5 separate regions of the Homo sapiens genome follow, and regions 1, 2, 4 and 5 are each linked to region 3. Evidence: promoter capture Hi-C in 16 types of primary human blood cells and fetal thymus (Javierre and others, 2016). All regions are on one chromosome and are shown on one strand. The core of a region is centred on a gene start or on the middle of the fragment in contact, and the rest is flanking DNA. Distances in the headings are between cores, read along the strand shown. Region 1 overlaps LINC00880 (long intergenic non-protein coding RNA 880). Region 2 overlaps LINC00880 (long intergenic non-protein coding RNA 880). Region 3 holds the start of SSR3 (signal sequence receptor subunit 3). Region 4 overlaps LOC101928236 (a long non-coding RNA gene). Region 5 has its middle 14 kb from the start of LINC02029.

The links. Contacts are between HindIII fragments. The CHiCAGO score rates a contact against its expected background, and 5 or more counts as called.
Region 1: a fragment that was not itself captured here is called in contact with the fragment with the promoter of SSR3 in region 3 in 10 of 17 cell types (non-activated CD4 T cells, total CD8 T cells, total CD4 T cells and 7 more); the score reaches 9.5 in non-activated CD4 T cells.
Region 2: a fragment that was not itself captured here is called in contact with the fragment with the promoter of SSR3 in region 3 in 15 of 17 cell types (naive CD4 T cells, fetal thymus, total CD8 T cells and 12 more); the score reaches 14.8 in naive CD4 T cells.
Region 4: a fragment that was not itself captured here is called in contact with the fragment with the promoter of SSR3 in region 3 in 3 of 17 cell types (activated CD4 T cells, non-activated CD4 T cells and naive CD4 T cells); the score reaches 8.0 in activated CD4 T cells.
Region 5: a fragment that was not itself captured here is called in contact with the fragment with the promoter of SSR3 in region 3 in 14 of 17 cell types (total B cells, non-activated CD4 T cells, total CD8 T cells and 11 more); the score reaches 15.6 in total B cells.

The regions. Positions count from the first base shown.
Region 1 is chr3:157,095,999-157,101,770 of GRCh38, reverse strand. All of the region lies in intron 3 of LINC00880 (long intergenic non-protein coding RNA 880), which reads left to right. LINC00881 (long intergenic non-protein coding RNA 881) reads right to left here. Exons shown (of 3, transcript NR_034008.1): 2 at 2,190-2,288; 3 at 636-1,085. Among named protein-coding and RNA genes, the nearest start is that of LINC00881, 9.0 kb to the right of the region's middle. The HindIII fragment of the contact is 353 bases long and covers 1,447-1,799 here.
Region 2 is chr3:157,115,519-157,121,177 of GRCh38, reverse strand. All of the region lies in intron 1 of LINC00880 (long intergenic non-protein coding RNA 880), which reads left to right. Among named protein-coding and RNA genes, the nearest start is that of LINC00880, 4.7 kb to the left of the region's middle. The HindIII fragment of the contact is 3,533 bases long and covers 2,271-5,659 here.
Region 3 is chr3:156,553,817-156,559,205 of GRCh38, reverse strand. SSR3 (signal sequence receptor subunit 3) reads left to right here and starts at 4,089. Exons shown (of 5, transcript NM_007107.5): 1 at 4,089-4,249. The coding sequence starts at 4,117. RefSeq lists an enhancer at 4,151-4,230. The HindIII fragment of the contact is 5,682 bases long and covers 1-5,247 here.
Region 4 is chr3:157,209,524-157,215,583 of GRCh38, reverse strand. The region is part of intron 2 of LOC101928236 (a long non-coding RNA gene); the gene reads right to left. Among named protein-coding and RNA genes, the nearest start is that of CCNL1, 52 kb to the right of the region's middle. The HindIII fragment of the contact is 884 bases long and covers 3,870-4,753 here.
Region 5 is chr3:157,064,954-157,070,452 of GRCh38, reverse strand. No RefSeq gene overlaps it. Among named protein-coding and RNA genes, the nearest start is that of LINC02029, 14 kb to the left of the region's middle. The HindIII fragment of the contact is 4,022 bases long and covers 463-4,484 here.

The DNA.
Region 1 (5,772 bases), core at 374-2,873, 550 kb before region 3:
TCCTTGTATCTTGAGTTGACGCAAGGATACTTACAGTCTTTACTTATGCAACATATATATGTGTCACTACAGAAACTAGAACCATTAGTATGTTTCATAACAGGATGCTGTTGCAGATGCCATGAGGTGTTATAAAGCCTATGGTACATATACTGTATATCTTTCTCAAATCCCCAAGTTCTGACATGCCAAGCACTGCTGGTTCCAAACAAGGGTTTGAATAAGGGACTGTGGCTCTTCAGTGTATCTATCACAGGGTTATAATGAGGATTAGATTACTTAGTATTTGTACAGTGCATAGACTATTATCTGGCACATAGTAAGCACTGTATACATATATTTGTTAAATAAAATAACAGCTGCCTTGTCTAAAGTAACTCAGGTGGAAGGCTAGGGAGGAAGGTTCTTTGAGACTTTGAGTGCAGGAATGCCTGACACCAGAAGCTGTGCTGTCTGTGCTGTCATGCTGCCTCTGCGACTCCAGGTTTGGGGCTCATGTCCTTTGGTTCACAAACCAGCCTTGTTTATGCAATAGTTTGAAGCAATCTCTGCCTTCTGAGATGATTATTAAGTGAAATCAGCCTTCTGTTTGTGTTCGTTAGCTTCGCCGCCATAACAAAATACCACAGACTGGGTGACTTAAACAACAGAAATTTATTTTCTCACAATTCTGGAGGCCAGAAACCTGAGATCAAATTGTCTGCAGGGTTGGTTTCTTTGAAGGGCTCTCTCTGTGGCTTGCAGGTGGCTGTCTTCTCCCTCTGTGTTCATATGGTCTTCCCTCTGTGTGCATCTGTGTCCTAATCTCTTCTTATAAGGACACCAGTTATACTGTATTACTGCCCACCCTAATGACCTCATTTTAACTTAATTACTTCTTCAAAGGCCCTGTTTCCAAATACAGTCACATTCTGAGGTACTAGGCGTCCATATATGCATGGCGGCGGGGCACAGGAAGGGGACACAGTCCAGCCTATAACACTATTTTTAGAAACTAGATAAATTATCACTCACAGCAGATGAATCCCATATGCTTGCTGGCTTGTTTCTGCCCCAGCATTTTTCAAAGTGTTGTCCAGGACCACCTGCAATCGAATCACTTGGGCTTTTAGTAAAAATAAGTCTGCTCCAAGCCCTTGAGTCAGAATCTGGGGCAGAGGAGCACAGGGCCCAGGGATAAAGCCTACTTGTATTTTACATTCATACAAAGATTTGGCTTAATTAAAGGGACTTGGGAAAAGCCAGGTAGTGAGGTATGCCGCCCCCCCCAACCCCCGCTGCACCCCCACAGCCACTGTAGTCCCCCAGGTAAGGGCAGCCGAAGGAAGAGCACGAAGGAGGGAGTCAGGCAAGTGTGAGTCTGAGCAGGGAGCACCATGCATCTGAGGCCTCCTCTAGTGTGGCTCACTGGAGGGCCACGAGAGAAGCTCCTTTCCACTCAAAGCTTGCCTCCCAGTACCAATGAATGCCCCCACCCTCACCCCTTTCAGTAGATACAGGGGACTTTGCAGTGTAGATGCCAGGAGAGGCCACAGGGGAGGCCACCTATCCAGAAATGCCTGTGTTCCACAGCCTGACAAAGATTCTAGTCATTTCCCTTGGGCGGGATTCCCCTACCCCTAACCCCCAGCTCCTGGCAGAACTCAAAGATCCCCCTGCCTCTCAGAATGGTGGAAGACCTGTGCCTTGAAATAATGTTTAAGAGACAGGAAATAGTGTCATTTTTCCCAAGCCAAATGCTGAACCAGGGAGCAGAGGTTGAGGCAGGTTCACATAGTCACTGACTCTGCTCCAAAGCTTCCTGCGATGTGGGTAAGCCGGTGGGTCATTTGGCTTCCTGGAAGCTGATGTACGGGAAACAGGATTGTCATACACATGGGTACAGCCTTTGAATCACGTCCCAGACAACCAACGTGAGCCCTCTAGAGTGGGTGTCTGCTGCAGGTGTACGTGTGTGTGCACACCCATGTCCCACGCCTGTGTTAGGGTGGCCACCAGCCTCTCATGTCAAAAATTCTAGCAAAACAGCTGGTGAGTGGGACTGTAAATGATAGTGATTTTCCTAGCACCATGACAACAAGACACCATCAAAGCTAATGGCGCTAATCCATCCCTCGTATTTCTCTGCTGGTTCTGGCTTAGATTTTGTTTCTTAAAATACTTGCCTGGCTGGCAAGGCAGTGACTCACCTGCACCAGGACTGAACAGAACAGGCAGGAGGTATTTTCTTCTGAAGAGCTGTCAAGAGCCAATACAGCACCTGAGGTCTTTCATTTCACACGTTGTTCCTGTCAAGGAGGAGACATTCTTACTCTCTTGTCAAAGTTGGAGTTGCCAAAGAAAGCAAAGTGGTTAGAATGTGTCAAACTTTGGCATTTGTATTAAACAGAGTTTGAGGAAACCAGGCAGGTTTGACTGAGAATCTCTTCCTTGTCTTCCATCCAGTGCAAGATAGGCCACATTTTTACAGAGAACTGTCAAAAAAGAAAGTTCACATTAGAGTCACTCAGCTCCACGTGGGTCCTCTGGTGGCATCTCTCTCAGTGTCAAATCCTAATTGTTAGGACTCCATGAATCCTGAGTACTTCAATGATTTAAGAACTCTTCCGAAGCTGGTAATTTGGAAATTGCATTGTTAGTAAATATGAATTAATAAAAAAGCAAAGTCAAGAATTTTACTGGCAATGAAACTATGTTTACTGGTCATCTCTTAATTCCATTTGAATTCCACAGGCCATAAACTGTGGTATATTGCAAAATACCCTGAAGTCAGACGTGGATTCACATCCTAGATTTGCTGCTTATTAATTGTGTGACTTTAGCCGTTACTTAGCCTCTCTGAGTGTCCATTTCCTCAGCTGTCAAAGTGGGAATGATACCATTTCCCAAATTGTATTGCAGTGAATATAACAAGAGATCATGAGTGTGAGAGATGCTAGTACAGAGGCTGGCCCATAAATGCTCATGTCTTTTCCTGTCTGTTGTTTTTTTCTGTAACTTAAATGAGCATCATTTCTAGCTAACTAATGTTTTAATGTTGACACATTTCAGTAGATGGTTTTCTATACTTTTAGAATGTCATAAATGATTCTCCAAGAAGTAGAAATGACTAGGATACAAACCCTGAGACCAGCAGTTGCCAAAGTCACAAGAGGTGATTTGTATGGTCCAGACAGTGATGCAGGAGCAAAGCCTCCGTTTTGACTTTCAGAGATTTGGGAGCAGTGAGGTGCAGTGCCCTTTGGAAAGGTCAGTAGAAATGCTCTGTGAAATGTGAAAAGGTGGGTGCCAGCTCAAGGGGTGCCAGGTGAGGTCCCACTGGAAACCTGCCTCCTCCATCCCTGCCTCCCTGTCCTCAGCAGCACCCTTTCATTTTCTAGTTAGATCGGCTCAGGTCCCAGCTGACTCCTTCTGGATGTCCAGCCACAGACATTTGTCTTTGTCTCCAGCACTTTGAGTCAGAACCACAGGTTTTCGTATTTGCTGTGGTTTTTTTTTTTTTCTGTCATTATTGTATTTGTTTTGGTCTTAGTTTTCTACCAGACTTTAATGGAAAGAGACCAGGTTTGAGTCCAGCTGCACCCCTTATTAGCTGGGTTATTAAGGACAAGTCACTTCACCTCTTTGAAATGCAATCTTCTGATTTATATGTGGGGATCCTACATTATTAAGTTGTTGCAAGAGCTAACGTGACTAAAATTCACATTGAAGTATTTTGTAAACTGTAAAGTGCTGAGAAGAAAAGATAATTTCAAACCCCTCTTAGCATGTATACTTTACTGGAACATATACATGCTCAAAGATATGTGTTAAGTTACTTTTTGATTAAAGATATTTGCTACAAGAATGTTGTCCAATCCCCAAACACACCAGGAGATGTTCTGAGCATTCTGCAATGGTTCCAGTGGGTTCCCTGGATGGTTTGTGAGGGAATTTGCCATTTACTGTGTATTTGCCATGTCCAGGCTCATGCTTGGGAACATCCTGTTTGATTCCCATGAGGTAGGTATTAGCCAAGTTTCCCCCACCAGGTGTGATGGTTAATTTTGTGTCGACCACACTGGGTTAAGGGGCATCCAGATAGATGATAAAACAATATTTCTGGGTTGTCTGTGAGGGTGTTTCTGGAAGACATTAGCATTTGAATCAGTGGACTAAGTATAGATCACCCCCACCAATGCAGGTGGGCAGCATCCAACTGGCCCTCAGCCTCCACAAAAATGTGGAGGAAAGGTGAATTTGCTCTCCCTTCTGGAGCCAGGACGTTATCTTCTTTCGCTTCCAACACCAGAATTCAAGGTTCTTGGGCCTTCCAACTCTGGGACTTACATAAGCTGCATTCTCTACATAAGCTGTCACCTGCGTTCTCAGACCTTGGGCCTCTGACTGGGAGTTACAGCATCGGCTCCCCTGGTTCTGGGGCTTTCAGTATCAGACTGAATTATACCCCCACCTGTCCTGGTTCTCCAGCTTGCAGACTGCATAACATGGAATTTCTCGAGCCAATTGCATGAGCCAATTCCCGTAATAGATCCCCTTCTACATATCTGTATATGTCCTATTGGTTCTGTTTCTCTAGAGAACCCTGTGTGATACACTACGCATGCACAAATAAAGTCACATCAAGACTAATAATCTAAATGTTAGTTTGTTACCACCATTTCTCACTTTGAACCTAGCTCCCTGCAAAGCACCTTCTACCCTGCACTTTTGGGGAGTTCCTGGGGTAGGAGGTCTTACATGTGCTCATCAGCAAATCAATGCCCAGGCACTGTCCCTTACTCTGCTCTGCCATCTCACTCTGGTAAAGTTGCTCTGTGGATTGTCAGGTGGAAAAGTTGCCTTTTTCTCTCTTATGTTCATTTATAGGAGTTTCATCTCAGTGACCCTGTACTCCAGTGTCTTATGAAGCACTAACAAATAGTCCCTTTAGCTTTTAGTGACAACTCTGCCCAGGAATGAGACATGGGTCTGATATGGGGTAGGGTGAAGGATGGGGTTCCGCCCCTGTTACCACAGTGTACTCAAAACTACTCCTTTCTCCAGTATGATGCTTCACCTTTTGGTGAGCCCACTGTGCGCAGCTCCCTGCATTTCCTCAAGAAGGGAGTTTTCCCAGATCCCTGTAGGGTTTCCCTGCTAGTCCACTAGATGTGACGGAATCCTAGCACAGACTCCAGATTGCACATTCCCACTATACAGATGAGGAAACGAAGGCTCAGAGGGTAAAGAAACTTACCCAAGGTCACACACTGAACAGGTGACAGTCAAGAGCCAAACTCAAAGTCCAAATCCCACATTCTTTCTGACCAAAATCCTGTGATCAAAGTGGCAACATGACACGTTGTTGTGACCCTGGTATTCATACAGGAGGGCAAACTGCGCTGGTCACTCTTTACTAGACATGCTTTTCTCCTCCCCAGGGGTTTGTTTAAGTCTGTTTCTGCTTGGTTTCCACTGAGAATTATACTCTGGGCACGAAAAACGGGGATTCCTTGCCATTTCACCTTCCTTCCCATTCCTAGCTGCCCTCCCAGGGAACTGACAGTTTATTTCATTGTTATTTGGCTTATGGTTAAAAGAACTGTGGTGGGGCCAGGCACGGGTGGCTCATACCTATAATCCCAGAACTTTGGGAGGCCAGGGAGGGCAGATCACAAGGTCAGGAGTTCGAGACTAGCCTGGCCAATATGGTGAAACCCCATCTTTACTAAAAATACAAAAATTAGCCAGGTGTGATGGCGCACGCCTGTAGTCCCAACTACTCGGGAG
Region 2 (5,659 bases), core at 2,788-5,287, 560 kb before region 3:
GAAATACTCTGCTTTAATTTCAGAAGTTAAAAAATCCTTTTTAACAACAGCAAAAAGGGGACCTGTTTTGAATTTAAAAGAAGTAGAGTGAGACAAGTTAGGAAAAAAAGAATTACCATTGCCTTTCTAAATTTATTATTATCATAATTGTCATTAAGTGTATTCGTCTTTCTTTAGGGTAAAGAGAGCTTTCCGATGGCCAAAATTTACTAGTCACTGAATTGTGTCCCAGGACACCCTTCAATAAAACTTGGCCTAAAGAAGCTTCAAGTTCCCTTCAAGTTCGAGGGCAGAGTCTGGGGTTCAGCCCAAGCCACTGGCATCCCTGAAGGGGCTGCAGGGCTCCTGACTCCAGGACCTCCTGGCATCCCGAATGCATGACCTCTCATGCCCGCCGCAGCACCTGCAATCTTGCCGGTGCTGCTTGGATTGCTGAGCAAACACTTGTTATTTGCGAAAGTACAAGGTTCAGTCTGTCAAACAGGGAAAACCAAACACCGAAGCACAGGAGCAGATAAGAGGGCCATGGTTGTGAGACCCACGCGGGCTCAGAGCGCGGCGGCGGGGCCCGGGCCTACCCGGCGCATGGGGGCTAAGGTGCAGCTAGGCAGGCCACGCGGCGCGGGCGGACGGCCTGGCCCGCGGAAACAGGCGCATAGGGCGGGAAAGTTCACCCGCCTTGCGGCGGCGACCGTTCTGGGTCGAACCGGCCATTGTAAGCCGCGCCGCTGGCGACCCGCCTGGGACCCCTTCGTGCCTTGGCCTTGGGGGGCCAAACACATCCCGAACGCCGTTCCCACCTTGCAGATTCTTGCAAGCTGCGGGTCCTACCTTGCTTCCCACGGGCTGATAACCCTGAACGTTCCCAGCGGGTAGAGGGCTTGCCACCTGCTGCTGAGCTGCGCTGCAGGCTTCCCCCGCCTCCTGCCGTAGGTCTAAGCCCAGAGACCAGAGGGGCCTTGGGCCTTGGCGCGCTGCCGCCGCCAGGGCACCGAGCGAGCCACTCTGCCTGACACTCATTTTTCTCTTCTGCAAAATGGGACTGACACCAACAATCACCTTCCTACCACCTCAGGGGGTTTTGAGGATCCCGTGAAATAACGGTGTGAAGATACTTTCAAAGTGGAAATCTCGGTTGTTACTAACTCATTTGTGAACCCCATTTTCTTCTTGATTTCTTCCTGACGTAGAATTGATCATCGTCACTGGGCTGTCTTAGCTACCCCTCCCTTGACTGTAATTTTAAATTTATCTGTGCATACCATTCCAAAAACAAACAAAAAAATCACGTGACCTGTGGTTTTATGTGTGAACAAAAGTTCTCTGAAAAGGAATTTAGAGGAAACAGACTTTATTACAATGAACAGTTTACAGACGAGGAAACATAGCCCTAAGTGTAAAATGAAGAGAACAAAGAGACAGTTTGGCGTTTACAGAGAAAATTCCTACCTGGGTTCCCAATCAGGTCCATTTATGCAAATGAACAATTCAAACTGGCTTGGTTCTGATTGATCAATGCAGCTGAGTCCTGATTGGTTGATGGGGAGCACAGCCTATTCCGTTGCTTCAGGCCACATGAGCGGTAACAGTCAGCTGTCAAAGCCCCAGTGTTAAGCCGACTGTGGGTTTTCCAGGAACTCAGAGTAGTGTGTAATCTCTAGTCAGTAAATGGCCGTTTGGCTCTATATTAAATTTATGTAGCCACTCAGGATTCATCTTGAGGGACTGGCTCTTTCAGATTCACTCATGTTTCAACTCTGCTGTTTATAAGTCCTCTATCTGTGTATACAGGCCTAGAGGTCCCAGGGCCGGATATAAAATTTCTCTGGACAGGGCCTGCTCCATAACCACCTTCACATGCTGTTCTTCAAACATATAGAATTGGGTTGATAGTGGAAACAATTTCAGGTACTTTAACCCAATTCTAAATATTCTAAATTTTAGGTATTTTAACCTTGGAATAATATAATTTTTTCTTCTTTTTTCTGTGTATAAAAAGACGTACATAGTTGATATGACACTATGTAATGTAACTCATAGATCACTATGTAATTTTGTACCTGCATTCATTCAGCATTTTAACATGAATTAATATTAATATTTTTCCATGTTAACTCTCTATGTAAAAACCATTTGCAATAAGCATTTTTCCATTTAGTAAGCTACCTCATATTTTATTAAATTGTTTTTCTACTGTTACACATAAGAGTTTTCTCCAGTTTTCCACTATAATAAATAATACTGCAGTGAACATCTTTCTTCCCAAAGCTTTTTTTGTTCTTTTTTTTCCTTGCTTTTGGTTTACCTCCTTAAAAGAATTCTGGGTCAAAGGTTATGAACATTTTTCAAAAGACCTTTGTTGTCATGATGGCAGAGAGGCAGCACTAAAATAGTTTGGAGCAATAGGGATTTCACCAAAATAGCTATGATTGATATCTGGAAAGAAAGACAGAGAAAATAATGGCATGGGAATCTTTCTAGAGTTTTAGGGCCTTGTTCTGATTTAAAAAAAAAAAAATATATATATATATATATATATATATATATGAAAGGAAAATAAATCTTCGGGCCCCCAAATCACTAAGGGAATAATCAAGCTGGGAACTGCTTAGGGCAAACCTGCTTCCCATTCTATTCAAAGTCACCCCTCTGCTCACTGAGATAAATGCATATCTGATTGCCTCCTTTGGAAAGGCTAATCAGAAACTCACAAGAATGAACCGTTTGTCTCTCAAGTATCTGTGACCTGGAAGCTCCCTCCCAGCTTCAAGTTGTGCCGCCTTTCCAGACAGAACCAATGTACAGCTTATATATATTGATTGACGTCTCATGTCTTCCTAAAATGTATAAAACCAAGCTGTGTTCTGACCAACTTGGACACATGTCATCAGGACCTCCTGAGGCTGTGTCATGGGCATGCATCCTCAACCTTGGCAAAATAAACTTTCTAAATTAACTGAGATCTGTCTCAGATATTTGGGGTTCACATATATATGAATATATGAAATAATTGTATATCTTAGAGTCCCATTCCTGGAAGTTTAAACAGCTGTACTCATAGCCCACACTTAAGTAGAAAGTTGGGAGAATATCTGACAGTATGGGTGACAACTGCTTACTCTAGGTGCAGATTGGGGCTTCTCAGGCAGCTATTGGCCCCAGGGTAATTAGCCTTCTGGTGACTACAGAAGTAGAAAGTAGAGATCTCCATCTACTTTACAGTTGAAGGCACTGAGTCTCAGCACACCCAGTTCAGTGGTTGTTAACTCTGGTTGCATAGTATAATCACTTAGGGTGATGAAAAGACATCCAGAAAAAAACATCCAGGATAGATCCTCAGATATTCTGATGTAATTGGTCTGAGGTGAGACCCAGGCATCATTACAATATGAAAGCTCCTTGGGTGATACTAATATGAATTAGGATTGAGAAGCTCTGGTATAGTGGGAAAAATATGGGCTTTGGAGTCACTAATATCTGATACAGCTCCCAGCTTTGCCATTTATTGGCCATGTCATTTTGAGTAAATTAATGACTACTCTCTGCTAAGGGTCCTCATTTTAAATCATAAAGTTGTCACAAGGGTTAAATGTAATAACATGCAAAGTGTTTTTCAAGGTTTCTGGAACATGGTTGGTGTTAAAAAAACGTTGGGTCCTTTAGTATGTACCTAAGGTCCTATAGCTAGCTGATGGTTCTGGAAAGCCATCCAGAACCGTGCTGTGCACTCAGTGAATGCCTGTGGATGTTCCTTGGTGACATCATCTTTGAACATGAATATGGGTGTTACTGAGACATTTCGAACACCACATTGAGTTGGTGTTCATCAGAACAATAAAGCCATACCTCATAGAGATTCATCTCATTTGCTGAATATTAATTTGCCTCCTATTTTTAGTTCTTCAGCTAAAAAGAAACCAATTTTTATTCTGCTAAACCAATTGATTATGATGGAACTCTTGCAAGAAAAAAGTTAAACACTGTTACAATTACATAAATGTATGGAAGTCTTTGTGTAACTTATGTAGTAAGCTGAGGATATAACAGTTAAATTGTCCTTTAAAAATTTTAAGACCTGCCCCACCCTCCACCCCCAGCAATGAACGATTTCACTTTTCACCAGCTTTAACCTAAATGCCTTTAGCCTATTTTCTTTATCCATCCTATGATAGACAGAAGAGTTAGTGAGAACTGGATTTGATTTCAGAAGACCTGGGATTGAGGCTTGGCTCTGTCATTCACTGGGTATAAACCTCGGGCGATCATTCTTCTTTGCCCTTGTGCCTTCTCATGAATGCAATGAGCACCTGAATAGCATGACCTGACTTTAGCATGAAGTGAGTTTAAAACTGTGATGCTGACCAAGCAGGACATGGTTATTTAACACTTATTAAGCACCTCCTGTATGTCCAGCCCTCAGTAGGAAACCTTGCGGGAATTATAAAGCCCTGAGACTTTTATAGAGTAACTTGGAGTCTAGCTAGAAGAGATAAATCTCATGCATGAAGAACAACTAGGACCAGTTTCCACCTGAGAGCTGCAATAAGTCCAGCCCAGTTGACTCATGGAGGAAATAAGTGGAACATTTAAGAAATGACAATCATGGAGAAACGAAGGGGTGTCAAAATTGAATGTCCTGTCCCTTAGTGCTTTATTTCTCTTCAGTCTCTGACACAAAGTCTTGGATAGTAATAACATGACACAAAACTCCTTCAAGTTAGATAGGGCCAGGCATTTTTCTAACAGCACATTCCAGAACTTTGTCTGTCCATGTCCTAAATCCTTATTATTTTGCCCAGTTTTCAGCAGTCTTTTGCAAGCTCCAGGCTTTCCCCCACTCCTATTTAGACCTCATGTGCCTCTGATAGCTCTGGACAGAGCCCATACTGTGTGGCGGACGCACAAAGGGGACACAGTATGCAAATGGCGGTGTAGGAAGCATCGAGGCAGGAATGTTTGAGCTGTGCCATGTCACAGATCATTTCTGAAACAGCAGTCCCTGAGCTGTGAGTCACAACCCTTGTTAGGGGTGAACAGCTGATGAGGCTGGTGTCAATTTTTGTCTGACCCCATCCTAAGAGCAACACCCCAAGTACTTCAATTACCCATTTGTAACATTCTCCCAGCAGTGGAGAAAGGAACAACAGTGGCAGCCCACACAGTGAACCTCAAAAGTAAAGCTCTCTGAAGTATGAAGATAGAAGAGGAAGTTTGGGAGACTCACAATGAAAGGGTTTAACAAAAACTGCCTGTGAATGTGTTGACTTAGAAACTATTGGAGCATTGGCAATGATTTCCTTAACAACGGAAGGAAAATTGACCAGGGGCATGAGTGTTTCATTCATTTTTCAGATGAGTATAGCAGAATTGCCAAGAGAAAGAGAATGTCTGCTCTAGCGCAGGGTTTCAGCCCTCAGCCCAGCCACTGACTCCCTTGGTGTTCTTTTGCAAATCATCCATCTCCCTGGGTCTCAGTTTATTCATCTGTAAAATGAGGAGCTGGTCCAGGTAAACTGTAAGTTCCTTCCTGGCTGGAACATCTTGATTTGATGCAAGCCATAGTGAGGGTTGTTAAATTATGCCTTGCTCCACGCAGAGAGGTCTAACTTAACTTTGTACACAAAGCGTACTCATTGACTTTCTGACTAAGTGTGGCTCA
Region 3 (5,389 bases), core at 2,840-5,339:
GCTTTTGGAAAGGTGAGCTTTCCAGTTGTATTGAGCCTACCACTACCTCATGTCCTATGCCTGGCACAATTCACTCCCTGAAGTTATTTACTTGAATCTTATAGACATTTTGATCTTGTTACCTTTGCCTTAAACCTTTTGGGTGGAGTGATACATAAATTAACAAATTGAGTACAGTTATTCATCTAGATGTTCATTTATATGCAGAAGTTGTTTATATTATTTATTTACAAGACTCCAGATCTGTTTAACTTTTATTTTTTGAACAAGTATTTTAGCTTTATTGTAGGTAATGGGGGTTTCTATCAGGTCTACAGAGAGAAATAGGGAAGCCCTAAGGCACTTGGAGCATCTCTCTAATTATCCCTTTTCTAATTTACAGCTGCTGGGGAGTTATGATTTGTGCTTTCCACCTCTTCTCAGTTTGCTTCCCTTGTTCTGTATACATCTATTAACTGTTTTGTTTTGTTTTGTTTTGTTTTGTTTTTTTCTGGGGTTTCATTTTCAAACTCCCTGAGACAGAGAATCAGGTATGGAGAGCCAAGGCCTGCTCACCAAGGTTTGCCTATTATCCTCTCTGTCCAAAAATACACTAGGGAGAGCTGCAGTGTGACAGGACTGTGCCTGATAATTGGTAGATAAGAAACTACTTTTGGCTGCTTGCTCAGTGTAGGGCTTTTGTGAGCAGTCATGCAGAATCAGAGATTCCACTGCATGGAGGAGACCAGAATTCATTTGTAGTTAAGAGCATACATCCTGGAATCATATTGCTTGGGTTCATAACTTGACTCCACCATTTACTGGTTGTGGAATCTAAATGAGTTATTTCACTAATCTGAGTCTCAATTTCTTCATCTGACAAAGGGGATAACAGAAACATATACCTCCTAGGGTTGCTGTAGGGATGAATCAGACAATACGTGTGAAGGACAAAGCACAGAGGTAGACATACAACAAGGACTCAATTCATGTTAGTTATTATAATCAAAATAATCATGATTATTATTTGGATACTTTCACAGGTTTTGCACAGTACTTTTCATGTAGTAGCTTCTCAATAAATATTTGCTGAATGAGTACATGAACTAATGAATTAGTCAAATATCAGTGGGTGAAATATGTAGTTTGGCTGAGTAAATAATTTTTCAGGTGATACTTTAAAACATTATACTTAGGGACTAATATAAGTGTTCCACCTCTTTTAAAATTATTCCCATCATGAGATTTGCATTTCAAGTAGGCTTTAAAACAGAGGAGCTTTTCTTTTTTCCTCCCCACAGTAGCCCTGGATGATCCATTTGTTATTCTTTAAAGGTCCCAGTGAAAAGCTAGCAGTGGCTTTCTATATTGGCTAGGCAACTTGCAGTGTCTGACACAGAAAAATATGTTAATTTTTAGCATACCAGATTTTCTTTCACAAAGTCATCAGTAATCTCTTATCCATATACCTGACAGCAAAAAATATTATTGCTTGGGGTTTTTCCTCCAATCTGAAAAGAATCAAGTGATATAATAGAAAATATACAAGAAAGCCTGAAATTCATAGAATAGACTCAGACTGCTATGGAATCAAGTCCATTTGGTTCCTTCAGAGTTAAGCTATGTTGAAATGGGCAAAATATATTGTAGATCTTTGCTTGGGTAGAATTTACTACCCACCTCTCCTTCTGTTTTTTAGCACATTGTGTACCCTGGTTGTCCAGTGTGCCACGGCTATGTGTGCCACGGCTATATATGCCACATACAAGTGATCCTTAGGTCTTGCTGCTTGCTTTTTAAAGGGAACTAGGTAGCTCTGGTGCAAGAAAACACTGCTTCAGTACTCCAAGTGTGCCACCTTCATAATTGTAATTGTTGCCATTACCAAAAATATTCTATCATAAGTATCATTCCCTATCATATTTCTCTAATTTACCCCCACAAAATAATTTGAAATTCATATTTTAGATTATCTTCTGTTTATAGTTACCTTTAGCTTTACAAAATGTATTAATTTTTTTCTGCTAGCTTTTTTTGATTATATCAATTGTAACATTTATATCCACTAAACATTTCAAACTTTTATCTTTCCTATTTTAATTGTTAAAATATTTTTCTCAGGCATAATTTTTTTAAATCTCATCCTTATCATTTCTTCTTTTCTTCTTTTAAAAGAAAGATGATTGTTGTCTCTTTGGATCTTTTAGTTTTCTGATTTTTTTTTTTTTTTTTTTTTGATGGAGTCTTGCTCTGTTGCCAGGCTGGAGTTGGAGTGTAGTGGCGCGATCTTGACTCACTGCAACCTCTGCCTCCCGGGTTTAAGTGATTCTCCTGCCTCAGCCTCCTGAGTAGCTGGGGACTACAGGCGTGCGCCACCATGCCTGGCTAATTTTTGTATTTTTAGTAAAAGCGAGGTTTCACCATGTTGGCCAGGATGGTCTCGGTCTCTTGACCTTGTGATCCACCCACCTTGGTCTCCCAAAGTGCTGGGATTACAGGCATAAGCCACCGCACCCAGCCTCTGATTTTTATCTTTTATCTTCTTTTTATATCCTTAGTTTGTTTATAAATAGGCAGAAGAAAATCTAGTTATAGAGACAGATCCAAAAAGTTTTATTTATGAATTGGTCATAGATGGAGAAGGAAAAAAATAATTAGTGTTGAAACCCACTATTTTAACCAGAACAACAAATGAGTTTAAAAGAATGCAACTTAGTGAGATAGGAAAAACTGGGGGAGGAGTATGTGTAAGAGAAAATAATAATTTCTTCTTCTATCACTACCATGTAATAAAATAAAGAGCATTTTTAACATCAAAAAAGACATAAACCCAGATATTTTTAAATGAATACTTTTGATTTTCTGAAAAATTCACTAGATGGTCTTTTTTTCTTTTTCATTTTGTGGTGAATTAATGAAAACTTCTGGCATTAAGGAACACTTGCGGTAGATAATGGAAGGATTTATATTTCAGGAAAACTCACTCTGGTACCTGTATAGAGAATAGACTGGAAAAGATTGAAGACAAAAGCCCAATTAGGACTAGTAATAGGAAGCTGTGGAGGTAGATTACAATTTGGATACTGTGAGGAAGAAAGATATCTACCAAACGGTTAATAAGGAGGCTGGAGGTTGAGGAAATTGTGCCTAATGCACTAGAGTGTTCTCAGTAATCAAAAGTAGCATTTGCTGGGAGTGATGTGGTTGAATTTTTTTTTGAAGAAAAAATGATAATGTGTTGAGTTAAAAATGGAATCTAGCTGTTTTAATAGACATACTTAATCCTTCTGAGCTTCAGAGAGGGAGTCTTGCCTAGCCAACCTGTTCTTAGTATTATGTTTTATTTAGCATGGCTTTGGAAGCCACAAAACTCTATAGGTCTAGTTGAAATAAAATAAAATAGTAGTAACTTGTATCAGACATATATTAAATATTGCCTTCATCAATGAGATCATGAGTTTCTTAAAAGCAAGAGTCCCATTTTCTTCTTCCTACAGAGGTGGCCTATTGTTTAGTGAAAAGAGCCCACGCCTTGGAGACCCACACCGCAGGTCTACGACCCTCAGGCTCTTCAGCTGCAATGGCGGTAATGATGCGCACGTCATAAGATTCTTCAAGGTATTTAATGAAATAAAGGATGTGTAAAGGAGAAGGGATTTTACATGAGTTAGCTATACCTTTCTCTTCTTTCTTCTTCAACGTACTCAGTCCTGGGTACGCACAGAGGGCACTAATGGCGTGGGGCCAGAAGAGCTTTTAATTTTGGAATTCTGAAGAACTGAGAACTCGTGAGTCTGTCAGCAGCTCTGAAGTGGAATATCAATAAAGTTTTGTTAATTTTTTTTAAAGCACCGACTAAACTACAAATCCCTTCTCTCTCCTCCAGGTGGGTGGGTCACGTGGCTTGTCAGGAATCCGGAAGTCTGGCCCGCTCGCCCAATCACGCCCGGAAGCCTATCTAGTGGCGCCAAGCTGGCCAATCCTGGGGACGCTTGCTCTTCGCCAAACCGGGTCCCGCCTCCGCGCGCCGCGCTGACGGGTCGTTAGCGGATACGGCGGCCGCAGGGGCGGAGTCAAGGGCCTTTGCCCGCCTTGGCGGCCGGCTCTACGTTCCCTGTTCTCGCCTGCAGCTCCGCCATGGCTCCTAAAGGCAGCTCCAAACAGCAGTCTGAGGAGGACCTGCTCCTGCAGGATTTCAGCCGCAATCTCTCGGCCAAGTCCTCCGCGCTCTTCTTCGGAAACGCGTTCATCGTGTCTGCCATCCCCATCTGTGAGTGCTGGGAGCGAGGCGGGTTAGGCAGGCCGCCGGCTAGTCGGGCTGGGCGGGGACGTGGCAGGACCCGGCGAGCAGGGAAGGCGTGGGTGCCGGCCGGGGGTCGGCAATCTCTCCAGCTCCCCTGAGCTCGGGGAGGCACGGAGCCTCTTCTTTGGGCACAGTGTTGTCGCTTGGGATTGTCCTGTGCAGCACTCGGGGAGGTCACTTGTTAAAAGTACGCACGTTCCCGAGCTCCACCCCAGGAGAAGGTGGTTAACTAGTTCTGGGGTGGCGGCCCCGAATCTCTATTTAAACAGACAAACTCAAGCATACTGCCTCTGCCCTTTTCTATACAACTGTTGCTTGCCGTTACGAAATTTTAAACTTATTACTTATTTTGCATAAATTAGTTAGGTGAGAAACCCATGAAGTGACCCACTGAATTATAAGTGCATCTTTACGTGAGCTACTTCACACCATTGCATAATTTTCCTGGTTTTTGCAAAAAGAGAGAGGTTGAAGTGCCAGGGGTTAGGGATCTACCTTATTTATACTTTTTAATAATCCTACTGGACCAATTCTAGAATTCTCACTTGGTTGGGAAACTGCAGACTTGGACAAGGTCGTTTTTAGTAGAGCTCAAGTTTCCAGAACTCCTGTCTTTTGCTGCACTGTTGTTGGGCATTTAAAACTAAATGTATTTTTCTCTTTTGTCCTTATACAACCCAGCGTGCCATTAACGTGATGTGAAGCCATATGATGGCTCACTAATTGGACATAGCACTGCTTGGAGTTCTGATAACAGCCACGTCAGCAAGGAAACTATGGTTTGGGGCTGCACGTGGCATTTTGGAATGGCCTGTGTTTCGCATGCTAGTACCCTGATGAATGAAATTTGAAGTCTGACTTGTGATTACGTTGAGCCAGAGTTTGTTCTCATTTTAGAAGTTGAAATCTCATCTGGACTAGTAATAGGAAGGTGATGTTTTTCAAATGTTCTGAACTGGAAAGCTTGAGACTATACTGTTACTGGTTATCTCGCTTCTGAAGATCCTCAGATACTATTGGATTGCATAACTAATAACCTGGTATTTTACCAGGCTTAGCTATAATTAATTTCGCAGGCTTTTGTTGCGGGGTTGTAATGTTTTGCTT
Region 4 (6,060 bases), core at 3,062-5,561, 660 kb before region 3:
TACTAACTCAGTTAACACACATGCTATTGAGCTAGGCACAGTGGCACAAGCGTGTAGTCCCAGCTACTTGGGAGGCTGAGATGGGAAGATCACTTTGAGCCCAGGAGTTCAAGTTCAGCCAGAGCAACATGGTGAGACCCTGTCTTAAAAAAAAAAAAAAAAAAAATGGCTGGGTGGCTTGGCTTATGTCTGTAATCCCAGCACCTTGGGAGGCCTAGGTGGGAGGAACACTTGAGGTCAGGAGTTCGAGACCAGCCTGGCCAACACAGTGAAACCCCATCTCTACTAAAAATAGAAAAATTAGCTGTGCATGGTGGTACACACCTGTAGTCCCAGTTACTCAGGAGGCTGAGACAGGAGAATCACCGGAACTAGGGAGGCGGAGGCTGCAATGAGCCAAGATCGCACCACTGCACTCCAGCCTGGGCAACAGAGTGAGACTCCATCTCAAAAATTAAAAAAAAAAAAAAAAAAAAAAAAAAAAGTGGTCCAGTGAAAACGTCTTGGCTTATGTCAGGATATACCCAGAAGACTGTTTTAATAGCATGACCACCTGAAAGTTAATTGATGAATTTCCACCAAATCAAGTGGGACTTTCTCTGAACTTTTGTACCTAACTTATTTAAAAATATAAATAAAGACAAAAGACTTTCAAACTTACAGATGAAGCAAAGAAGACTGTACTAGAAAGAACCCTCTGCTTCCAAATAAAAAGGCTCTTGCTCAGCCTCTTTTGACTTTGAAATTCCATTTACTGATAAAGCTTATCTTTCTTTTGTTTTTTTTTTTTTTTAAAAAAAGGCTTAAACTGTAAATATCTCTGGAAAAGGCAGTAGCCTGTCTGAAATTCACAAATTTGGTTCTACAACATTCATAAGATCAGGTTTAAAGAGATATAAGAATTTGGGGTTGTTAGGAAGGGAAATGTGACCCACAGACGAACCACAGATGAAATAAAGTGAAGACTGGCTAAAATCACATTTCCAGACTTATTTTGGCTAAAGTCATCTCTCCTTCTCTCCTTTTTTTTTTTTTTTTTTTTTTTTTTTTTTTGAGACGGAGTCTTGCTGTTGCCTAGGCTGGAGTGCAGTGGCGCCATCTGGGCTCACTGCAAGCTCCGCCTCCCGGGTTCACACCATCCTCCTGCCTCAGCCTCCCGAGTAGCTAGGACTACAGGCGCACGCCACCACGCCCGGCTGATTTTTTGTATTTTTTAGTAGAGACGGGGTTTCCCCGTGTTAGCCAGGATAGTCTCGATCTCCTGACCTCGTGATCTGCCCGCCTCGGCCTCCCAAAGTGCTGGGATTACAGGCGTGAGCCACTGCGCCCGGTCTCTCCTTGATTTTTATACTTCTTACCAACTACCAGCCTCATCTAGCACTAAACAATGCTAGAGGCATTGCCCCGTTGCTTTCATCCCATGGAAATCCACTATTTCCACTTACATGAAAACAAAGTTATAATAGCAGTGCTATTTCTTTAAAAATACCCAAGATGGTCGGACACGATTGCTCATGCCTGTAATCCCAGCACTTTGGGAGGCCAAGGTGGGTGGATCACGAGGTCAGGAGTTCGAAACCAGCCTGACCAACATGGTGAAACCCCGTCTCTACTAAAAATACAAAAATCAGCCGGGCATGGTGGTGGGCACCTGTAATCCCAGCTACTTGGGAGGCTGAGCAGAAGAATCACCAGAACCCGGGAGTTGGAAGTTGCAGTGAGGCAAGATCATGCCATTGCACTCCAGTCTGTGTGATGGAGAAGACTCTGTCTCAAAAAAAATTTAAAAAAATGCACAAGATACTTACACCAAAATTGTTTTGAAAATGTGAAATATTGTCATGGTAGGTGTGCTATGATGTGATTTATTGGAAGGTCGAGGTCCCCAAGATAGGTGCACTGTTTGATACTCCTTTCTTCTGCACTTGCAAGATTGCTCTCCTTTGACGTCAGACCCAGTTCTTGAGAACCAATATGTCTCACCTCCAAGGTGATTAATTATATTGATTGCACCTCAAATGTGATGTCACTTCGGTCTGCCTACAGTGATGGAAAGACACAACTAGATATCAGAAGAAGGAAGAGGACTAAACTGTACCTGTGTCATATTGTTCAGAATGATAATTTATCCTTTTTGATTTGATTTTTAATGATTTTGTGGTGTTGGGTGTTGACAAATGTATGCCACTAGATGTGCGTGATCTGAGCACAGGCATGTTTACTTTCTGAGTCTGATATAACCACAGTGGCAGTGGAGACTGAATCCACCCCATCTTCCTTCTGTGCCCTCCTCTTTTTGTTTTCTTTCACAATGCATATCTCTAGTCCTCGCTTACCAAGGATTATATTATGATTAATGAGATCACTGACAGTCAGAAAATAAGTGGACAAACTTGAGAACTAAGCTTATTCTAGAGCATTCTGTTTCCATTTTAAACAAGAAAACTGATGAAAACAAAAGAAGTAATGAAAGAAAATAAGGCAAAAGTCCAAAATATTAAACTAAACAAAGCGGGAATGAACACATTTTCTAATGGCTAGGTACCTAAGCATCAAATAAATAATTTGCTACTAAAATGACGCACACTGCTGAGCATGGTGGCTCACGCCTGTAATCCCAGCATGTTGGGAGGCCGAGGCAGGCAGATCACCTGAGGTCGGGAGTTCAAGACCAGCCTGACCAACATGGAGAAACCCCGTCTCTACTAAAAATACAAAATTAGCTGGGTGTGGTGGCATATGTCTGTATCCCAGCTACTCGGGAGGCTGAGGCAGGAGAATCGCTTGAACCTGGGAGGTGGAGGTTGCGGTGAGCAGAGATTGTGCCATTGCACTCTAGCTGGGCAACAAGAAAGAAACTCTGTCTCAAAAAAAAATAAGAATAAAAATAAAAATAAGAATAAAAACAAAAATAAATAAAATGATACACCCAACCCAAAAAAAAAAAAAAAAAAAAAAAAAACCAAGCACATTATTTCCAATCTTATCACTTCCTAGGTTTTTTTTTTTTTGAGACGGAGTCTTGCTCTGTCGCCCAGGCTGGAGTGCAGTGGCACGATCTCGGCTCACTGCAACCTCCACTCCCAGGTTCAAGCGATTCTTCTGCCTCAGCCTCCCGAGTAGCTGAGACTACAGGCACACACTACGGCACTCGGCTAATTTTTGTATTTTTAGTAGAGACGGGGTTTCACCATATTGGCTAGGCTGGTCTCGAACTCCTGACCTTGTGATCCACCCACCTTGGCCTCCCAAAGTGCTGGGATTACAGGCGTGAGCCACCGCCCCCGGCTACTTATCACTTCCTAGTTTTGAGGCTAATTCTCCATTAAGAGAACAAAGTCAATTCAATAAAGGATTCAACAGAAATTCACTTTACCTCTAATGAATAATTCAAACTTTAATATTTGAATTATCTAAATAATTAGCTCAAATTTTTATAATATTTTGTACTTCTAACACATTCTTAGGCATGGCTTTACTTTCTATCCTTTTGGTCAAAATAAATTAATGTACTTGATGTGTCAAAATAGCTTTTATTTGTCCAAAAAAAATCAATATAGCATCAAGAAATCCCTTTAAATACATCTACAGGTTGTGCCTGAGATCATGAGTATTGAAGTGTTTTATACTATTGTCAAATATCATAGAGTTTATCTCCAGGTAGCCTTTGATTATGAAAGATGCCCTTGGTATAAATAATCAAATCAGTTTTTGTAAATACTATTTTCAAGCCTTAAAGTGGACCATAAAATTCAAGGCATAAAAGCAATATATTTTAGAAATTCTGAAACTGTTTCCCCTACCTTTCTACCCAGAATTTAAAAAAAAAAAAAAGTCCTTTTTACTTTTTTTCCAGAAAATTATAAGCTTATATACTTCTTCTCATCTCCTCTTAGTTATATGGAATTTTCCCATTGTCTTCTACCAAAATTTAATCCTTCAGAATTCCCAGTTTTCCCACATGGTTAAATGGAATGTTCAACATTTTTGTGTGTTATGCCTCACTAGACCCATAATCAACCAAAATAGACATTTATGATAGACTTAAAGTTCTCTCGTTTTAAGTAAACACACACTAATTTTTTTAACAATCTAAACTTCTAAATATTCACTAAGTGTTTTACCTTGAAAATAGACTATCAAAAAAAAAAATCATAAGGGCCAGATGCCATGGCTCAAGTTTATCATCCCAGTACTTTGGGAGGATCTCTGGAACCCAGGAGTTCGAGACTGCAGCGAGCTATGATTGCACCACTGCACTCCATCCTGGGCAACAGAGTGAGATCCTGTCTCAAGAAAAAAAAAATATATATATATATACACACACATATATACACATATATACATATATACACATATATACATATATACACATATATACATATATACACATATATACATATATACACATATATATACATACATACACATATATATACACATATATATACATATATATATGATACCAATGTCCTCTATGTCATACGAAAGCCAATGTTGTTACAAAAGGCAGTGAGATCCAAGTCTGAAGAAGCCCAAATAACTTAGCAGACAGGTGAAATCATTGAGCCCATTATAACTAAAATTTGACATTTTATTTAATTAAACAAATAGTTTGAAGAAATAAATGTAAAGTAGTTAAAAGAGATACAGCATGACTCATAAACACATGAGCCAAGCACTGTTTGGGATGTTTGCTAATCCTACTCTAGGCTAATTAGCTGAAAACATACCTGGCAAATCCCAGGAAGCTTAAAGATGATTAAAGAACTCAAAGAAGGAAAGCCTACAGCAACTTGTGCAAAAGAATAAAGAAACTGCAGCTATTCCACCTAAGAAAGCCTGGAAGCCGATTTCATAGTAAACTTCCATTTAATATGGCTGTTATGCAGATCAGGGACAGACAGCTCTCCAATGGGACAAAACAGGATAGGACGCCATATATTTCAACATAAAGGCATAGACAAAAGACAGTCTCCACAATAAGGGGAATCTGTTCAGCTCTCGCCTGGGTGACCGCTGTATGAAAAGTGCGTGACCCCAAGGTGCCCGGGCCCCAAAGCCAATCCTAGCACACTGAAGCCTCAGAATGGAAACAGGAGAGCAGACTCCAGGGAGTGGAATTGAACACATTTCTTCACAGAAGGTGTCTCGATGAGATCAGCAGGGGATCACAGGACACATCACAGAGCAAGGCTTCCTTAGAATCCTCTCCAATTCCTCTCCTTTCCCCAAAAGCTCAGTCCTCCCGGCAAACTCCTTTACTCTAGTAGGCTCTGAGTCCCTCCTTGTGTTTCCTCCTCTCATTCCCCTCTCCAAGTCAATCCCTCTCTCCCTCTTCATCTCCCTCAAATTCTCTTTCTCTCTCTTGTAGCCTCCTCCCCACAACCCAAGTCTCACCCTCTACCCACACAGGCACTGTGGGGAGAAGGACGCCTGAAAATACTCATAGCAGGATTTGTTTAATGACATGCTGCAGTTTATATGCACCAAAAAGATGGCAGCATTGTGCCTTTTTTTTTTTTTTTTTTTTTTTTTTTTTTTTTTTGATACAGAGTCTTGCTCTGTTGCCCAAGCTGGAGTGCAATGGAGTGATCTCGGCTCACTGCAACCTCTGCCTCCCAAGTTCAAGCGATTCTCCTACCTCAGCCTCCCAAGTAGCTGGGATTACAGGTGCATGCCACCACACCCAGCTAATTTTTGCATTTTTGGTAGAGACAGAGTTTCACCATGTTGGTGAGGCTGGTCTCAAACTCGTGACCTCATGATCTGCCTGCCTTGGCCTCCCAAAGTGCTGGGATTACAGGTATGAGCCACCACGCCCAGCCAGCATTGTGCCTTTCTATAAATGATATAAACTTCCTCAAAAGCTCCATTCCCACTTTTAGAGGTGGCAGGATGGAGTGGGATAGGAAAGGTATGAATTTGCTGGTTAAGTGTCAGTGGCCAGCCAGGGGCAATGGCTCATGCCTGTAATCCCAGCACTTTGGGAGGTCAAGGAGGGTGGATCACCTGAGGTCAAGAGTTCAAGACCACTCCTGTAATCCCAGCTACTTGGAA
Region 5 (5,499 bases), core at 1,224-3,723, 510 kb before region 3:
GGGGTAAAGTTCACTTTAGGAAATGGGGTAGCCAAGGGTTTGGGATTTCCCCACACTGTTTCCTTCTCCATCTCATGAGCTGACAAAAGCAACTCTCTGAGTCCCATACCCAGGAACTTGTACTGAGAAAAATAATCCATATTTATTTGCTATTATAAACTAGGGTGGTCTTCAGAAAGAAAACCAGGGCTTTTTCCCGGGTGGGCCCTGCCCTGGAGTGGGGCAAATGATGTGGCAGTGAGCCCCATACTGGGGATGTTGAGAGGAAAAGGGTGCATTTTTGATGGGAAACAAGAGGTCATCTCAGTTCGAACTGTAACCAAGGCGGAGATTCTGAGCCAGGGTAGGAGAGTCCACAGGCTGCCCAGAGTCAGGGAAGTCTGGGTTGGAGCACATCTTGGTGGTCACTTACGGTCAAGATCCCCAGGGATATCCCCTGCCTGCCCACACCCAAGGGAAGCTTTTTCTCTGTTGAAATCCCGAATTTCCTACAGTGGCTCCAGTCTCCAGAGATTCCCTGGACAGATGCTCTCTCCAGATGAACTTTGTCCTCTGACTTACAACAATCACAACTGTTCCCCACATCTGCTTCCAGGAGATCTCACTGGCTGGGGTCACTCAATCAGTATAGAGATGAGAATCTGCCCTCCAATAAATCTTGAGCTTGGGTGGCTTCCTACTGCCCTTTAAGCCTGTATCCCTCTACCCCCAAGTCTACCTCCTTGATCTCTGGGCAATTGAGTCTGGACAATAGTTACTCTCTCACCTCCAAATCTCGAGTACTGCACCACTTAGCAAATGCATCAGGTTTAAAAATCCTGCCACTTAACGTAGGCTTATTTTCTGTCTAAAATGTGCAGATGTTTAATTGTCTCATCTGTGAAATGATGACGAAAATAGCTTATCTGGTTGGACCAGACAAAACTGAACCTGAGCATTTCTCAAGATCTCTTCCGTCTCTGGAATCCATGATTCTGAGATATTTTCAAATATATGCACTAAAAATGAGTTTTTCTAAAACCAAATTGTGATTCATGTGAATTACTAACGACTGAACCAAATACAGCAGCTTATTTAGTTCTGGCCTCAGGAGAAATCTTTTTTTTTGAAACAGGGTCTTGCTCTGTCACCCAGACTGGAGTGCAGTGGCACAATCATGGCTCACTGCACCCTCGACCTCCTGGGCTCAGGCAATGCTCCCACCTCAGGCGATTCTCCCACCTTAGCCTCCGGAGTAGCTGAGACAACAGGCGTGCGCCACCACACCAGGCTAATTGTTTTATTTTTTGTGGAGATGGGGTCTCACTATATTGCCAGTGGTCCCAAATCCCTGGTCTCAAACAGTCCTCTCACCTCAGCCTCCCAAAGTGTTGGGATTACAGGCATGAGCTACCACTCTCTGCAGGAGAAACTTGTAATTTACTTTTAGGTGAAAAGTCTCTTCTCCACTAAATACTGCATAAAAATGGCAAGATTCTCTACTGAATATTAATGTGACCGTAGCAAACAAAGGAAGAGACTATAAAAGTCTGAAATGTAAATATGTGGCCCACTATTCCAAAATAGTAAATGTAACAAAAGGAAGAAAGTCAGCCTCCTCCACCCTAGTGCACCAGGCGGCCTAGGGCAAGCCACAGAAGTCAGCCCCTTACTTCCTTTCCCACCATCCCACCAGGCAGCATCTCTGCCTTTGCTCACATTCTTCCCTGAGTCTTCAGAGCTCCCCGTCCTGCTTCACCTGTGTGAGGTTTCCTCATCCCTGCAGCCCCCACAGCTCACATCTATTTTTTTCTGAAAACTTTGCATAGCCTGCCTGCCCTCTGGGCCGGCTGGAGGTCATCTCTGCTTCTCAGGTTCCCAGCCCCTTGTATGCTGTGACAGCACTCGCCACCCGCTCCTGATATGGCATTGCATGGTTGGTACGCACTTGTCTGTCTCTGTCACTGGACTTAAGTTTCTGGAAGGCCGAGACGCTCTCTGTCATCATTCCCATGGCCCTTACACAGGTTAGACATCCAATACATTTTTATGAAATTTAAATGAATTGAAGAAGGATGACAATTTTCCTATCCAGATGTGTATCTCTACCACAGATTATTGGAACAGACTGTAGTGCGAAAGTGGCAGTGACTTAGTCAATGTAGCCAGTGATTCTGAACGTTGGCACCATTGACATTTGGGCTGGATAATTCTTGGTTGTGGGGGGCTGTCCTGTGCCCTGCTGGATGTTGAGCAGCATCCTTGGCCTCTCCCCAATGGATGCCAGTAGCACTCCTCCTCCTCCTCTTCCTCCCAAGTTATGATATCAAAAACACTGGCAGTATCCCCAGTCATTGACAATGTCTCCTGAACTACCCCTGGTTGAGAACCACTGATGCAGGTGATTCCCAAAGGAGGCTGAGAGAAAGTACCAGACATGATGCTCAGTGATGTCCTACACAGTGTCCTGACTCCTAGAGTCACCGTCATTTTAACACAACAGTGCACAGCAGCCACTTACACCTCTGGCCAAATATTTCTCCCTGACAGGCTATCACAGTGCACGCTAGTCAAACACTGGAATTTTCTTTTCTTTTTTTCTTTTTTGAGATGGAGTCTCACTCTGTCTCCCAGGCTGGAGTGCATGGCAAGATCTTGGCTCACTACAACCTCTGCCTCCTGGGTTCAAGCAATTCTCCTGCCTCAGCCTCTTGAGTAGCTAGGACTACAGGCATGTACCATCATGCCCAGTTAATTTTTGTGTTTTTAGTAGAGATGGGGTTTCATCATGTTGGCCAGGCTGGTCTCGAACTCCTGTCCTCAAGAGATCCACCCATCTCGGCCTCCCAAAGTGCTGGGACTACCGGAGTGAGCTACCACGCCCAGCCCAAATGCTGGAATTTTCTTAAAGGAGGTGGGGAAGGAAGGAACTGAATAAGGCCTCATCCCCTTTGAAATATAAATACCTTTGTTTAGGAGGTTGTGGTCTTGGAGCACAACAGCTACTAACAGGTGCCTGGGGTCATGCCGGGAAACCACAAGGGCAAAAAGTAACAACAACAGCTGATTTGAGAGACATATTTTTCCTTAGAAGGTATACAGGGCCATCACTGCTTGAAATATTCACACATACAAATTCAAGGAAGGGGCACACCTATTTGGCACGAGCCCTGTGGCTGTGGTTAGAGAAGATTTGAATATTTTGAGTGTGCAGGAAGGTGAACTTCATGTATCTTTACCTTAGCTTCCTTAGGCTGGGGCTATCTGTCAGCTACAGAGCAGCCCACAGGCAGGCGGAGCTGTGATGAAGCACATTTGTTCAAACACAGCAAATGGTGTTTGAAAAAACCACCACTCTTGCTTTTTTATGAAGCTATTACACTCTGTCATGTCAGGGAGCTGAGCCCAAGTGATGCCCAAGTGGCCATGATAGACTCACACTACAGGGCCTGGGAGAGCAGTGGGATTGTTTTTTTTCCTCGTTGAGGCAGTAAAAGATTGATTTTTGAGGCAGTGACTGAGGCATTATGCATTAATGACTACGCAGGGATTTTCATTCACATATCACGCACTGACAGTGGAAACTGAAGCTGCTGTGTAAGGTGCTGGCTCAATGCCCTTCCATGACTCCTTCCTCATCACGTCATTTGCCTGCCGAGATGCCGGGGCCTTCCGAATCATGGGGTCGATTGAGTAAAGGGCCCATGGTTTGGTGCAGGGCATCTCAAGCCAACACACGAGAATAACTGATGCAGCTGCTGAGATGAGAAGGTCTGCCGCAATGCTAATAACTCCACCTGGCTGCTCTCACATTTGACTTCTTGTATTCAGATTTGGAGAGACAGCTGGGAGCCTCTGATGAGAAAATAAAAAATTTACAACAATAAGCAAGCTGTCCTCTGACACCAGGAGAGGAACTCGCTTCAGCCCTGGCAAGAATTGCAGCTGGACTTTGTGAGGCACTGTTTCATCAGATGCCAAACATCATAGCAAGGGCAAGAATGACAAGAATTACAGTTTCTGCCCTGATGCACAGGTACTGATGGAAGAGATATTTCTGTGTTGATTTTGCACTTCTCAGGGCAAATCTGCAAAATAGATATCAAAGGAGATGTGGGCACTGGGCAAGGAGCCACACCAATCAACCATATAGAGCAGTCTGGAGGAGTCTCTCCCCATCTCCAACCCTCAGTTTTTCCCACCTGTTAAACACAGGCCACAATGTCTGTGCAGCCACCTCGCAGTGCAGTTAAAAGAACCGGTTTAAACAGTGTTTCTTAGCTTAGAGTCAATGGCTGAACAGGTTGCAGAGGGGCTGTAAAATCCTGAAATTTGCATGAAGCAATTTTTCCATATATGTCCATGTGCATCTTTTTGAGGAGGGGTTTGTCGCTTTCACTATATTCTTAAGAATATAGTCACTCTTAAGAGGTTAAGGGCCACTGTTCTAGGTAATGTGTGAAGGTGATGTATGTGTCCTGTAATTGAGCTATTATCAGCAAGCTTTTTGAGGAAAAAGGGACACAGAGGAGCACTTATTATGTGTTAGGGACTGTGCAGGACACACAGAGAATAGAAAAAAAAATGACCCTGGCCTTCTGGAGCATATGATAGACTTTAGATATGAGCCCAAAACAGATTAAAAGTTAAAAGGAAAAGCTAAGTGTAGGCAACACAGGTGAAAGGTCAGAAGAATGTAAGTGCCCCATAGAAGGAGAGAAATGGACTTCCAGCTACAGTGGGTTTAGGGATGGACACAGAGCGAGGGTGGGATTGAGTACAGGGAAAGGCAGGCAAGAGCATCTGTGGAAGAGGGATGGCCGGTGCAGCAGAGCTTGCATGCTGAGTTGACACGCTCCATGCCAGAGACCCTTAGATTGGGACTAAGTGTCACCGAAGAGAAGGCTGCGTTCAACAGATAGTTCTCAGGGTGACAGTTCATCCCAGGTGCCCTCAGACCCACATGACCTGCTCTTGGTCCTTCAGCCTCCGCTCTGCAGATGGGGCTGAGGGGCCCACCCAGAGAAGCCCTGTGGGGGAGAACAGAGCCTGCCCAGGACAGATATTCTCCTCCTTAGGAGCAAGTCCTCTTGACCCCCATGTTCCAAGCAGGAAGCTTTTCACATGTAGACTTTCTTCCTGCTGTGATGCACAAAAGCAGCCTCTTGCCAGTTAACAAAGTCTGCTGGAGCCTCCTGGGGCCATGCCTAGCACATCGTTACCCGAAGCAGACTAGGCAAACAAAGCCCTAGAAAATGAGAAAAAATGGAAATGATTTGATATTTTAGAAAAAAATATTGAAGTGTTTATCGTGGGGAAAACTGGAACCCTGTTAATATTTTTACTAGTATTGTATGGCATGGCAGTTTCTAAATTCTGCATGTGGTGGGGCCACTGTAACTCTTTCTGGGCAGAGTACTCTGTGATGATTCTACTCAGACCCTGGCTCCACAGACTGGCAAGGCCGCCCCTTCCCAAATCAGCAAGTGTCCTGGACCAAATGGTCATTTCTCCACTCCT